Linked DNA regions of Homo sapiens: all the other regions are linked to region 1. The links are contacts of gene promoters, found by promoter capture Hi-C in human tissues and cell types (Jung and others, 2019). All regions are on one chromosome and are shown on one strand. Each heading gives the region's core, a stretch centred on a gene start or on the middle of the fragment in contact. The rest is flanking DNA. Distances are from core to core; before and after follow the strand shown.

The links. The method cuts DNA at HindIII sites, captures the fragments that hold promoters and counts their contacts. A contact is called where the count stands out against the background at its distance.
Region 2: a contact is called between the fragment with the promoter of SPAG11B here and the fragment with the promoter of DEFB104A in region 1, in 15 of the 25 tissues and cell types used here (H1 embryonic stem cells, adrenal gland, aorta and 12 more).
Region 3: the fragment with the promoter of DEFB106B here is called in contact with the fragment with the promoter of DEFB104A in region 1 in 20 of the 25 tissues and cell types used here (H1 embryonic stem cells, IMR-90 fibroblasts, adrenal gland and 17 more).

The regions. Positions count from the first base shown.
Region 1 is chr8:7,834,154-7,838,237 of GRCh38, reverse strand. It overlaps DEFB104A (defensin beta 104A), which reads right to left and starts at 1,802. Exons shown (of 2, transcript NM_080389.3): 1 at 1,696-1,802. The coding sequence starts at 1,753. It also overlaps the pseudogene LOC124901865. The HindIII fragment of the contact is 6,880 bases long and covers 1-4,084 here.
Region 2 is chr8:7,461,803-7,465,886 of GRCh38, reverse strand. It overlaps SPAG11B (sperm associated antigen 11B), which reads left to right and starts at 2,345. Exons shown (of 3, transcript NM_058201.4): 1 at 2,345-2,444; 2 at 3,028-3,180. The coding sequence starts at 2,384. The HindIII fragment of the contact is 17,874 bases long and covers 1-4,084 here.
Region 3 is chr8:7,484,671-7,488,754 of GRCh38, reverse strand. It overlaps DEFB106B (defensin beta 106B), which reads left to right and starts at 2,355. Exons shown (of 2, transcript NM_001040704.2): 1 at 2,355-2,421. The coding sequence starts at 2,373. DEFB105B (defensin beta 105B) reads right to left here and starts at 1,076. Exons shown (of 3, transcript NM_001040703.3): 1 at 965-1,076; 2 at 578-619. The coding sequence starts at 1,034. The HindIII fragment of the contact is 12,606 bases long and covers 1-4,084 here.

The DNA of each region.
Region 1 (4,084 bases), core at 553-3,052:
GGGATCAATAGACAGGAATGTTTGGGTTGCGACAAGAGGTTGTATTGTGGAGGCCAAAGTTGTATCATGCAGTTGATGCTTTTAGCTAGCAGGCTTCAGAGAGAACAGGCTGTAAAATGTTTCTTATCACACTTAAAGTCTGTGTTGATGTTCATGATGGAAAGTGTAATGAGGCATGTCCAACCCCCACTTCCTTTCATGGCCTGAAGCAGTCTTTCAGATTAAATTTTAAGAGCCCTGGCTGAGGAGGGAGTCCATTTAGATGGTTGGGGAGGGGGCTTAGAATTTTATTTTTGGTTGACAGCACCCATCCCCAGTCCCTGTGGGTATCTGAGGGGCTGACAGTGTGTGACAGCCAAACTTACCCAAAGCAGGGGTGGCAGGAGAAGAGGCAGGCAGCGCATGTCATTCACCCTCACCCACTTCTGCCACTTCCCTCCCTAATCCTCTTCCTGCTAATGGTCTTTCTCAGAATTCAACTGCAGAGGACAGTCTGACCCAGCCCTCTGCAGCCAAGTGTGGATAATGGCAGCCAGCTCTGCGGTGCATTCTTCGGGATCTGGAGGGATCCCTGACCCAGGCTTTCCATCCCAAGTTCTTTGTCTTGGGATCAAAGGTTGAAGAAAACCTGTTCTTTGATAAATTGCTATCATATTTTAACAGACCTGGAACATGCCCATAGCAGAATTTCACAGAAGTGTCTTTGGGAAATGACACGGGAAGAAAGAAAAAGGAAGAGTTAACCTAAACAGGTACCCTCTGAAAAAAAATCATTAACCCATCTGAATCACAGTGGAGGCACAGCCCGGAAGGGCAAAAAGATGGGTGCTGGGTGTCTGTCAAAGCCCCATAAAATTGACTGAGCAGCTTGGAAGAGAAGATCCGATGGCTTCTACGAGTCAAAACAATTGGTTTCGTCCCAGCACTGCTAGACTTGTTAAGCAACTCTAAAAATCTTATTTTCTCTCACTGTACCATAGAGAATGCTGCTCAGCTTGTAAAAGAAGGGAATTAGATTAGGTGCTCTCTCATATCCATTGCAAATATATTAAGAAATACATGCTTCTGGGGACATAGATTAACGTAGGAGTCAGAAGATTGCTGACATCTCAGTCTAAAATTTCCTGAGCAGAGTTCAAAGGCACCTGCTATTTGTGTTGTCAGTAAATTACGTTCTTGCCTACTGAAATCACTGCATCCCCTTTAACCCTAATCATCTGACTTGATATGAAAAGTTGCAAAATTTAGGAGGATGAGTAGGCGCCCTTTTCTGTGCAGAGTAAAGCTGTTCAGAAGGAGGAGGATGGGGGAAGGCATCTTATTCTACAAAATCAACAATGAATAATTGCTGTTGCCCTGCAATGGAACAAGCATGGCTAGTGAGTCCTCATTGCTGAGGATTCCATGAGGAATTGTTACCGTGTGTGGCCAGGGTGCCAAGGACATCTAGGACTCCTGATCCCTACGTTTCTTTTTTCCTCCTTGAGCTAGTAAGCCTCGTGGCTGTAAGGTGCATACAAGGACTGCCACATACTGCATTTTACTAATGGACCCAATGAAAGCAAAGAGAAAAAAGGCTGAGATTGAAGAAGGTTACTCCATCCTTCAGGATTTATTTTCTAAATCAAATGTTTTTCTTCTCCCCCTGTCATCCCCAGCAACTGTGTATATTTCCAGCTGAGAGTCCCTTTTTACCTGGAAGATCTTGATAGAGTAGAAGAGAAATGGCTAATAGCAGCACAAGTCTCTGCATAATGCTGGGGCTGCTGGCGAGAAGCAGACGCAAGTCGGAGGGAATCACCCCAGGCAGGAGCAGGGCAGGTGTATTTATGGGCAGAGGCTGCTCTTGATTACTGAGGCTTATCAAAATGCAGCGTTCCTTGGTGAACACTCACCAAGGCACAGTGTGGGGGAGGTGTTGGGGCTACAGAAATGCCAGCTGGGCAGTGTTGAGGGTGGGGAGAGAGTATTACCATAGGTAAAGTCCAAGTCACTTCACTTGCTTCCCTGAATCGTTTCTGAAGCAAGAACTGGATTAGATGATCTCTAAGATACCTTCCAGCCTTGACATTCCTCAATTCTGGTGAGAGGACTTTCTCTTCCATTTCAGTACATTTCAGTCAGGAGATTCTTGTTGAAAATTGTGATGTGGCTAATGGAATTGAAGTCCATAGCCCCCAAGACCTCTCTGAAGTAAACATTGAAACAAACATACAATGTCAAGGAGAAGAATGGCATGGAGCGTGGGGAGGTCATAAATGCGTGAAAGGTCCCAGGACATTTCTGTGATAGAAAGAGTGTAGGATGAGGATGACAAGTGACAACAAGGAATACTTGATGGCGGGCATTGTCCAAGGGTGGGATTGTAACCACAGAGCATCAGGCTCACTTAGGGCTTAGGTGAAAAGGAGGACAAGAATGAGAAGAGAGGTTAAAAGGAGACAATTCATGAGAATGCTGTATTTCTAACAATGGCTTCAAATAAAACATAACCTTCCAGAGAGCATACGCCTGGCCCTCAACCCGGGGTGTATGCTCCCTGGATTTAACCCCAACCCCACCCGAGGCAAAACATATAGAGCATATGCTCCTGGCATTTGCCCTTAGGGAAAACACCAGATAATTTTATTTTAAGAAAAAAAAAATACTTCATTTCTCTAAAATGAAGTACTTTAGAGAAAGTAAAAACGTCCAATCTTGAAAGTTGACATTCTCGAATAAGCTCCCCTTATTCTAGAACACAGATTAGACAAAGCCTGACAGACATACGTTGCTTGCACATCCTAAGCAAAATCTAGCAGTCAGTGTGTCTTCCCCAGAGTTCTCACTTAGGGGAGAATGTGATGGAAAACCAGGTCTCCTTTCACAGTAACGAAATAGAATAGAACATCAGAAATCATAAACTATGCCAGTTTGGGTGCTCCATGAAGCATTTATCAACAGGAATTAGAAAGGAAATAAATTTATTGGGAAATGCCTGTGAAAGATAAAGGGGAGCCAGGCGCAGTGGCTCACACCTGTAAATCTCAGCACTTGGGGAGGCTGAGCGAGGGAGGAGGATCATGTGAGCTCAGGGGTTTGAGTCCATCATGGACGGCATAGAGAGACCCCGACTCTACACAAAAAGAAAATTAGCCAGGGATGGTGGTGTGTCCCTGTAGTCCCAGCTACTTGGGAGGCTGAGGCAGGGGGGTCTCTTGAGCCCGGAAGTTCGAGGTTGCAGTAAGCTATGATGGCACTACTGCACTCCAGTGTAGTAGGCAATACAGCAAAACCTTGTCTCTGAAAAAAATAAAATAAAATAAAAATTCAAAACAAAAAGATGAAGGGGAGAGGGAGCAAGATTGAGTAGGGAAAGTCTTCAGAACATGATGTCAATTAACACCTGTGAAAAGGTTTGGAGTCGGGGGAGCCTCAGACTACAGTGCAGAAAATTTCAGCATTGCCAGTGGGGAACCCCAGGGCAAAGACTGTCCTACACCAGCAGACATGGCCCAGCTCTAGTCCACATTGTGCTCATTCACTGCCTGGAAGCAGCCAGGGCAAGAGTGGTAGCCATGGGAATCCTGCCGCAGGTTACAAACGTGCAGCACGTAGAGGCCGTCGGATACTCTCCTCACAGCAGACACACAGCAAGCACAAATGTGCAGGATCCATGGGACCCTCCTAGCCTGCCACATGTCAGGCTTTAGTAATTTTTGATGATGAGCTTCAAGGGAAAAACATCAGCCAATATTCAAGGTCATCTATGTGACCAGGATTCTGAAGAAAACTGAAAAATTCTGATGATAATAAATATTCAGCAATTCTTCAAAAAAAAAAAAAAAGTAATTCATATACAGGGACTGAATAACCAAACTTCAAAAGAAATCCTATATCTTCTTAGGAGAAAAAAATAATAAAAGCTTTATTTGCTGAGTCCTTATAAAGTATTTCAGAGTTCTGGTTTCGGTCGCTACAAGTAAAAAGACTGAAAGTAACTACTTTACTCCTTTAAAAAAGAAAAAAAAAAGCCAAATAAATGGAAAAATCAATGACTTTTCTTGGACCCATTAGGGAACTGAGGGCTCCGGGCAAACCCATT
Region 2 (4,084 bases), core at 1,096-3,595, 370 kb after region 1:
GTGGAAAATCTTACCCCCTGCACATGTGTGCAATTTCCAATAAGATCCTTCAGGAATATGTATTTGCAGAACTTCTTATTTGACAATAAAATCTTGATCATTTTACTTTAGCCCACCTACTTAGTCCAAACGAATCAAGATACCACATACTAAGCAGCTTAAAAAAAAAAGAATATGATTTATTGATTGAATGGACCAAAAAAAACTTGAAACAATTATTAGAATATTCTATAATGGGTTCTGCCATCCTCCCCCTCAGGATGGATGTGGCTTTTAGCAAGAGAATTATTCAAAGATTTTTTTAGGACACAGAAATCTGGCAGAAGAGGACAGGAGCTGAGAGCATTGTTGTGTTAGGACAGATGTAACATTAATTGCCTTTATTACGACTTCACCAGCTTTTGCCTGTCAAAGAGCAGAACTAGGCTTTCCCGGCTGCTCTTTTTTAAGATTGTTCTTTTCAGAAGCATGGAAGAGGGGGCTTACTTTATCTCAAGACGTAGACAAAGGAAGTGAGATCTAACTATTTTTGGCTCAGTTTCTTCATTTAAATAATTTCAAATAATTCTAACGACTTCAAAGAAGATTCCGTTACCTGGGTGGTAATTACTCAAATGCTGTTATATTTTAAGTCATGATTTTGATTAATGATTCATTACTATTAATATCTGAATGGTGGAATAGGCTTGTTTTTGTTTTCTTTCCTTTTATAGAGAAGATAAAAATATATAGAAATAAGTTACCAATATACTCCAAAATTTCCATCACTGTTATAAAAGATCCACATTCCAAGTTTAAATAATTACAAATACAACTGTAAGAAGTTGCTATTGAACTAGAGTACAAAAAATACCCAGAGTATGTAGATGAGCGAATAAATCTTCATTTAGGGTTGAGGTAGAGCAGCTGTCTACCTCCTTTCTTGACTGTCTATGTTCTTCCAACATCCAATTATCAGAATTTGATGCAGTAAGTGATTAAAGAAACTTATCATGGGCCAGTTGTCACCTATCTCCGCAGTGTTGCCCTGTGCTCTTGGAATTGGAAGACTTCCTAATTCCTTAAAGTGAAAGGATGTGAATGATGCTCCTGCTCTCCCTGACCAGCACCTCATGCTTTGCAGTGGAGAATCTGTCCTGAGACCCAAAAGATAGTGGCCTCCGCATTGTGCTGCCAGGGCAGCTGCTATGTGCAACTGTCCGCAGCTGCAAACCTTCCGCCCTTTGCTGGTGCTTCAGCGGATGCCCAGGTCTCTATTGTCATTGCTGCCTCTTTCTCCATTTGCTTCCAGCTTTCTCCAGGTAGAGAGTAAGTATTTTTATTTACACAAATGACCTAAGTTGTTTTCTCTGTCTGGATTAAAATATACATGCAAATGAGACATATGAGATAAGCACTATCTTTTCCAGACATCACTGATGTTACATTGGATGCTATGTGAATACAAAACTCTTCAACCAAAGCCTTCTTCACTTTAGTTAAGTCCAGAGCAGACTGTCTGGGTTACATGCATACCTGAGCTAATGCAGCCAAGTAAGAAACACACACTTGGTTAAAATGCTTAAAAAGATGAAGGAGAAGGGAAGACAAGTCCTCTGCTTGGATATTACTAGAGGAGAAAACCCAGACTCAAACACAGATTTTTTTTTTCTTTTTTAAAAGAATTGAATTGGACCCAGTGACATCAACAGGAGGTGTCTGGGGGTAAAGAGAATGGAAAGGGGAGAGAAAAATCAAGACAACTCAAATAAGTTAAAATAGAAAGGAGGGGGGTCCAAAGTGAGGAAGGAGAAGTGGAGGGGACCAAGAAACAGGGAGAGAGACTCAGAGAGGAGAAGAAAAAGAAAAGAACATTTTGAGCAGCCTTGGAACTCTCTGTATAACTTCAGGAAGGGATAGTTTGTAAAACCAGGTCCTACCTGTTATGTTGTGTGTCTTATGCATGATTTTTTAACACTAAAATAAAAACGCTCAGCCAACAGGATAGAATCGACATGGCAGTTTATTTATGTCCCTGTTCTCATGAACATTAGGGGGCTTTTGAGAAGCGTTTGAGGACATTGGCAACTTTATGATAGTTATGTTTGTTCTGCCCCTCCATGCCTTTCATCTTTCTGTTTCTCTCTGTTCTTCCTTATTCACCAAACCCACCCAAGGCATTCAGGCGTATTATTTACTTCCTGAAATATGTGTCTCAAGTGTTTGTTCCACCAGCAGTGGGATAGTAGCGTGTCCACATTGTCCTTTGAGAATGAGAAGTCATCCTGGAGCACAGCTCTTCCCACGCTCCGGGCCCACACACCCAGCCTCACTCCATCAAAGGAGCCCCGCTGCCTGCCCACCCACCCTGGGTGCTTTCTGGCTTGCAGTGCTCTTGGCAGACATGAGGCAACGATTGCTCCCGTCCGTCACCAGCCTTCTCCTTGTGGCCCTGCTGTTTCCAGGTAAAATGGAAAGGTGACCCGGGTCTGGGTGCCAGAATCTCTCTGCAATGGTCATCTGAGGTATGGGAGTCCAGGCTGGACAGGGAGAGATGAAGTCCTTGGGGCATGTATTCCTGGTGGAGCTTTGGGTACGAGTCTCTGAACTGGGTTCATAAATGGCACTCTGAATTGGCTGATGGCACTTGCTTCCCAGGGAAGAGTGTCCCTCCCCGACTCCATTTTCTTATCCTTTTAACATTCCCCTTTCCCTTACAGAGAAGAACATTACATTTTAGGGAATCTTAACAACTGCATTAGTGACACTTGAAATAAATTCTCTGGCTGTGCTGGCTTTGAGGAGGTGCTCAGACTCACCATTCATGGCATACATTTCTTACACTTCATTCACCTTCTCTCTCTACACATAGGTGCATACAACGCATGTGCACAAACGTGCACACACACGGAACACTAGCACCCCTCCCAACTCCCCCACCCAATCACCCATGCTCACTCACCTGGTAGAGTGTAGGTGCCTCATGCTGACGGGTCTGCCAGGCGGAGGCCTCAGAGCATCCTCAGACGTGTGTTTCCACTTGCACAGGATCGTCTCAAGCCAGACATGTGAACCACTCAGCCACTGAGGCTCTCGGAGAACTCAGGGAAAGAGCCCCTGGGCAAGGCACAAACGGGTTTCAGCTGCTACGCCACGCAGTGAAACGGGACCTCTTACCACCGCGCACCCCACCTTACCAAGGTGAGTCAGGGACCAACACGTGCAACAAGTGCATCCACTGGGGAGACGTAGAGGGAACAAATAGACGGGAAGATGTCTGTGCTGGTCGGGGTGGGTGAGCAGTCATTGTTTGGGGAAGACATGGTGCGGGTGCATTGGGCTGCCCTGCCTGTCAGGGAGACCACGGGGTCTCACAGCTTCCCCTGGGGCTGGATCATTGAGGGCCTTGTGGAACGTGGGAGTATTGAGGGGCCAAAAGGCAATTTATCTGAAGCCACACCTGTAATTGCTGGCTTCCTCCAAGAACAGGTGCCAGAGGAGACACTGGTGGAAACATGGCCTCCTGCCAGGTTGCAGCCCCATGCCCTTAGCTTTGGAGGTCGTTCCCGTTCAAGGAATTTACTGAATACCTACCTACTAAGTTTCAGGTGTCCATTGAGGTCTGGGAAATGCTTCCTGAGAATGGGGGCAGAGAATAGACTGTATTGTCAGTCTACTCAGGCAAGGAGGTAGCAGGACATGGCAAGGGACAATTGAGCCCACAGCCACTCTTCTGGACTCTTCCAGAAGGGCCAGGCTTCTGGTCAGCCCCCAAACCCCTGGGCAGGACCAGCTTCAAATCCAAAAGGGCCTGGAAGAGCCTGTAGTTTCCAAGATGCTTCTTTAATGCCAAGCTGATTGCTGACCCTAAGACAGGGAGAACTAGGTTAGCAGATCAGTGGGCAAGAGCAAGAAAGACAGGAGGGTGTTGGCAAATTGCTGTGACATCCAGCAAATAAAGTCCTGCTGAATTTGATGCCTGCAGCATCCTACCCAACCTCCCATCCCTTTCTAATTGGCCCACAGTTCCAAAGGACTCATTCATCTGGATCTCCTCCCAAGGGAAGGGAAAAAGAAAACTCAATTATTACACAACAAATATAAA
Region 3 (4,084 bases), core at 1,106-3,605, 350 kb after region 1:
CTTTGTCTACAATATTTCTTTTAGTTTTGTTTACAATGTCCTTTCTTTCTGTATAAGATGACTTCAAAGAAAAAGAAAAGATCTGGGGGCTATTCGTTATGAATAGCTTTTCTGCAATGGTGCTGAGTTTTCACTGAGGCAACCTCACTCTTTAATTTGAGCTTCCTTCAACTAACCTCATGCATTTGTGACATATATTATTACCAGACTTAGCAGCAGAGCTTGCAAGAGATGGGCAGGCGTGTTCACAGAGCAGTGCTAATTGGCTGGTACAAGAATAAATCTAAGAACTTGGTTTAGTGAGCACCAACAGCTAATGGGAAAAGCCACTGAGTCCAAATCTCTATGGCCAAATTACAGTCCAGTCACAAAGATATTTTTCTGTGAAATCAAAAATATCCAAATATTATACTTGGAACAAGAGAAAGAGAAGGAGATAAGTTAGTGAACTGATTTTTCAGACAATTCTATTTCTGCCACTATCTCTGTCCCCTCTTTGCCTCCAGACATCAGAGAGACCTAACAGCGCCAGAGCTCCTAAGAGAAAAAATAATTATATACAAGAGATTTAACTTACCTGATGGAAATGGTTGGGAAAAATCAAGTCCTGCCTGGCACCCTAAATTCAAAACAAAATACATTTTGAAAATTAAAATCAACACAGGAATTAACACTGTATAAAACACTCCCAACTTCACATGTGACATAGCATAACAGGAGACAGTAGATCACAGAGTTGCAATCTTTATTCTGTTTCTCAAGGCCAGCATTCCAGGTAACCAGCAAAAACAAATTACAAAAAAAAAAAAATACACTATATGCTGTTTGCTCTTAGTAAATGTCACTGTAGGTCTAAGAAATTCCCATGACAGGTGCCATGAGAGCTTGACCATTAAGGTCAAACATGGAAGAATCAACAGGCTTTATAATCTGCCCAATCAAAATCCCATCCATTTTTACTTACCTGATGGCAGTTGAACCAAAATGAAGAACATAGCAAATAGAAAATAAAATGTCTTCCTGATCAGGGCCATCTTTTAGGGAAGACTCTTCGGAATAGAGATTGGGATTTCCTTGAGAAGACCCAAATGAGAGGCTCATTTTTATTTAAAAGTAATGGGGAGATGCTCTTGATCCGTGAAGTGAATCAATAAAACACAATTATATGCTCCATTTCCCAGGATAAAGGGATGATATCATGGATAATAACCCTTGGCATCCAGAAAGCCTTTTATTTTGGGGAGTCTAACTGGTGTAGTGGAAAGAACACCAGGCTAGAGGTTGAAAGAGCAGGGGCCATGTGAGTTTCCACCATACTAATGCAGGGGCCAGAAGATAGTGACCCCTTTCATCTCTTCCAGCTTCTGTTTTCTGGGAGAAAATAAGAACCCACTTGCAAATTCTGCCTGCCTCTAAAGGTGTTGTAAGAATCTAGTATGATTATAATGCAAAAGTGTTTTGAATATGTGGAATGCTTGGAAGGAGGCCTGGTACCATGTAAGAACTCAATAAATGTGGACTCTCACTTTTCTAGCTTTCATTTTTATTCTCTACAAGTATCACAGGGAGAAAAGGAGGGGTAGCAATCATTTTGTCAAGTTAGCTCTGAGTCCCCTTTCCTGTAAGATATCACCTCACGCACCAAAGCCATAATTACTGCATATTTTAAATTCATTAAGGACATGAATATTGGCCCAGATGGGTGGCTTATGTCTATTATCGTAGCTTTTGGGAGCCTAAGGCAGGTAGATTGCTTGAGCCCAGGTGTCTAGGGCAAGGCATGATGGTTACCAGCCCCTTGCTGCGCCAACAGTGCCATGGTACAGGTGAGCAGCATGGCAGGACCAAGCACGAAAAGCGTGCAGCATACAGCAAGATTCACATTTTTTAACAAATATATGCTTAGGTCAAGCCCTTTGCCAAGTTTACAAAGCTCAAAAAGACTGAATCTGGAATTCAGATTCCACCTCACTACGGTTCCTCAGCTCTTAACTGAAGCATTGAGATATTGTATAATTACTCCCATTTTACATATGAGTAAACCAAAGCTGTTCAGGAACACAGCCAGGATTAGAAACGAAACTACTGGACTCCAGATTTTTTTATTTTTTCTGTGTCTGCCCTACTCTGTCCTCCCTTCATCCCCACTTTCCTTCTTCAAAACTTTCCAGAATCAGAAATATGATGAGCTGTAGACTGAGTGACACCCACTGAGGTTGGGTGGGCTCTGTGCAGCAGAGCATGGAAATCCTCTCGTTTCTGCTAAGCCTCACTGATCAAGATGTTACTTGGTCTGGAGAAATGTATAAATGTGGGTGTTTGCGGCTCTTTCCTCATGGACACGGTGCTGATCTCTCAAGACCCACCCAGTCATGAGGACTTTCCTCTTTCTCTTTGCCGTGCTCTTCTTTCTGACCCCAGGTAAAATGGGCATCTTTACAGGGAAGGTGATCGGAGGTGGTGTCCCACAGACAGGGTCCCCTTCAGTGAATGCCTGGGCGTGATCAACCCATCTACTACAAGAGGTGATATCCCCCAACGCCTCTTCTGTAATTCCTTTGCATTTTACATTGTTATCTAGGAGGGGCTGTCACAGGTTTGAAAGAATAAAAGAAGGCCAGGAAAGATGCCTTTTGGCATCCCATCTCATGCTCACTAACAAAAACAAAAATTGAGAAAAAATTAAAAACAAGGATAGCAGTCTATGAACCTTTTAAAATGTAGTTATGGTAGAGATTGAGACAGGTAAGGAGAAGGGACAGGTAAGGATCTGAGCTTAGAGACACCTATGCACTCATGCCAGTCATGGCAACAGGTAAAGCAGCGTAACTTGGACTGCCATTTCTTGATCACATATCATCAAGCCAAGTACTGTGATGAGAGCTTCACATAAAATGCATCTAGTCTTCCAGTGCCAGCGCCTTTACGGAAAACTCTGTCTTACCCCTAATTTAATGGAAGTTAGAGAAAATCTTTTTGGGTTTGAAGGTCCATTTTACAAATTTTATTACAGATGCAGAAATTGTGCCTCAGATGGGCTCAGTGCTTCTCAGAGTCTTATAGATAACCAAAACAAAGCCAGGGTAGGAGCCCAACTGTCTTGCCACAGTAAGAGGCATTAAAGACACCCTTCCCATATCAAAACTCTCTTCATTTTCTCCTGCTCCTGGGAATCTCCAGTGGCTCCAATTGTATCCTCTTCAAAATTAAGGCTTAAGACCAGGCTCATGTGAGCCTCCAGAGAGCTGAAGAAAGGGATTCTCAGAGCCCACAGTAACTCCCAATTTGTGCCAGATACCAGTGATATACGATCCCAGGTATGATGCTCAACTTTTCACATCAGCTGCTCATAGCTCTGGTCTGTTTTGTGACAAGCCTGTGAGAGTAGATTCTGTGTCAAAACATGAGGATCTAGGACCCACAGTGACCTATGCCGTATTCAGGCCACTGGTTTTGATATGCACGTTCGAAACTGGCCAGAGGTATCTTTTTCAGATCACTCATACTTATTATATAATAAGTCAAAAAAAAGATGTTATATTCTATAAAATTATCTGTTAGATAATACTATAATTATAAAAGTATAATTAGTTACTATAATTATTATGTAATTACAGATACTTATCTATAATTACATAATGCTTGTTATATAATTATTAGATAATCTAATAATTACCTATTAGATATACTAGAGTATAATACTATAATACAATAGTATTAGAGAAAATCTTTTTGGTTTAGTTTAGTATTATAGTATAGCATAGTATATACTATAATTATTTACTGATGTTACAGTATGGTATTGTACTAGTATTATATACTATATAGTATTGTACTAGTATATATTTTATATATATATATATACATATTTTTTTTTTTTTTTGAGATAGAGTCTCACTCTGTTCCCCGGGCTGGAGTGCAGTTTCACAATCTCAGCTCACTGCAACCTCTGCCACCGGGGTTCATGCGATTCTCCTGCCTCAGCCTCCTGAGTAGCTGGGATTACAGGCATGTGCCACCTTGCCTGGCTAATTTTTTGTATTTTTAGTAGAGACGGGGTTTCACCGTGTTGGTCAGCCTGGTC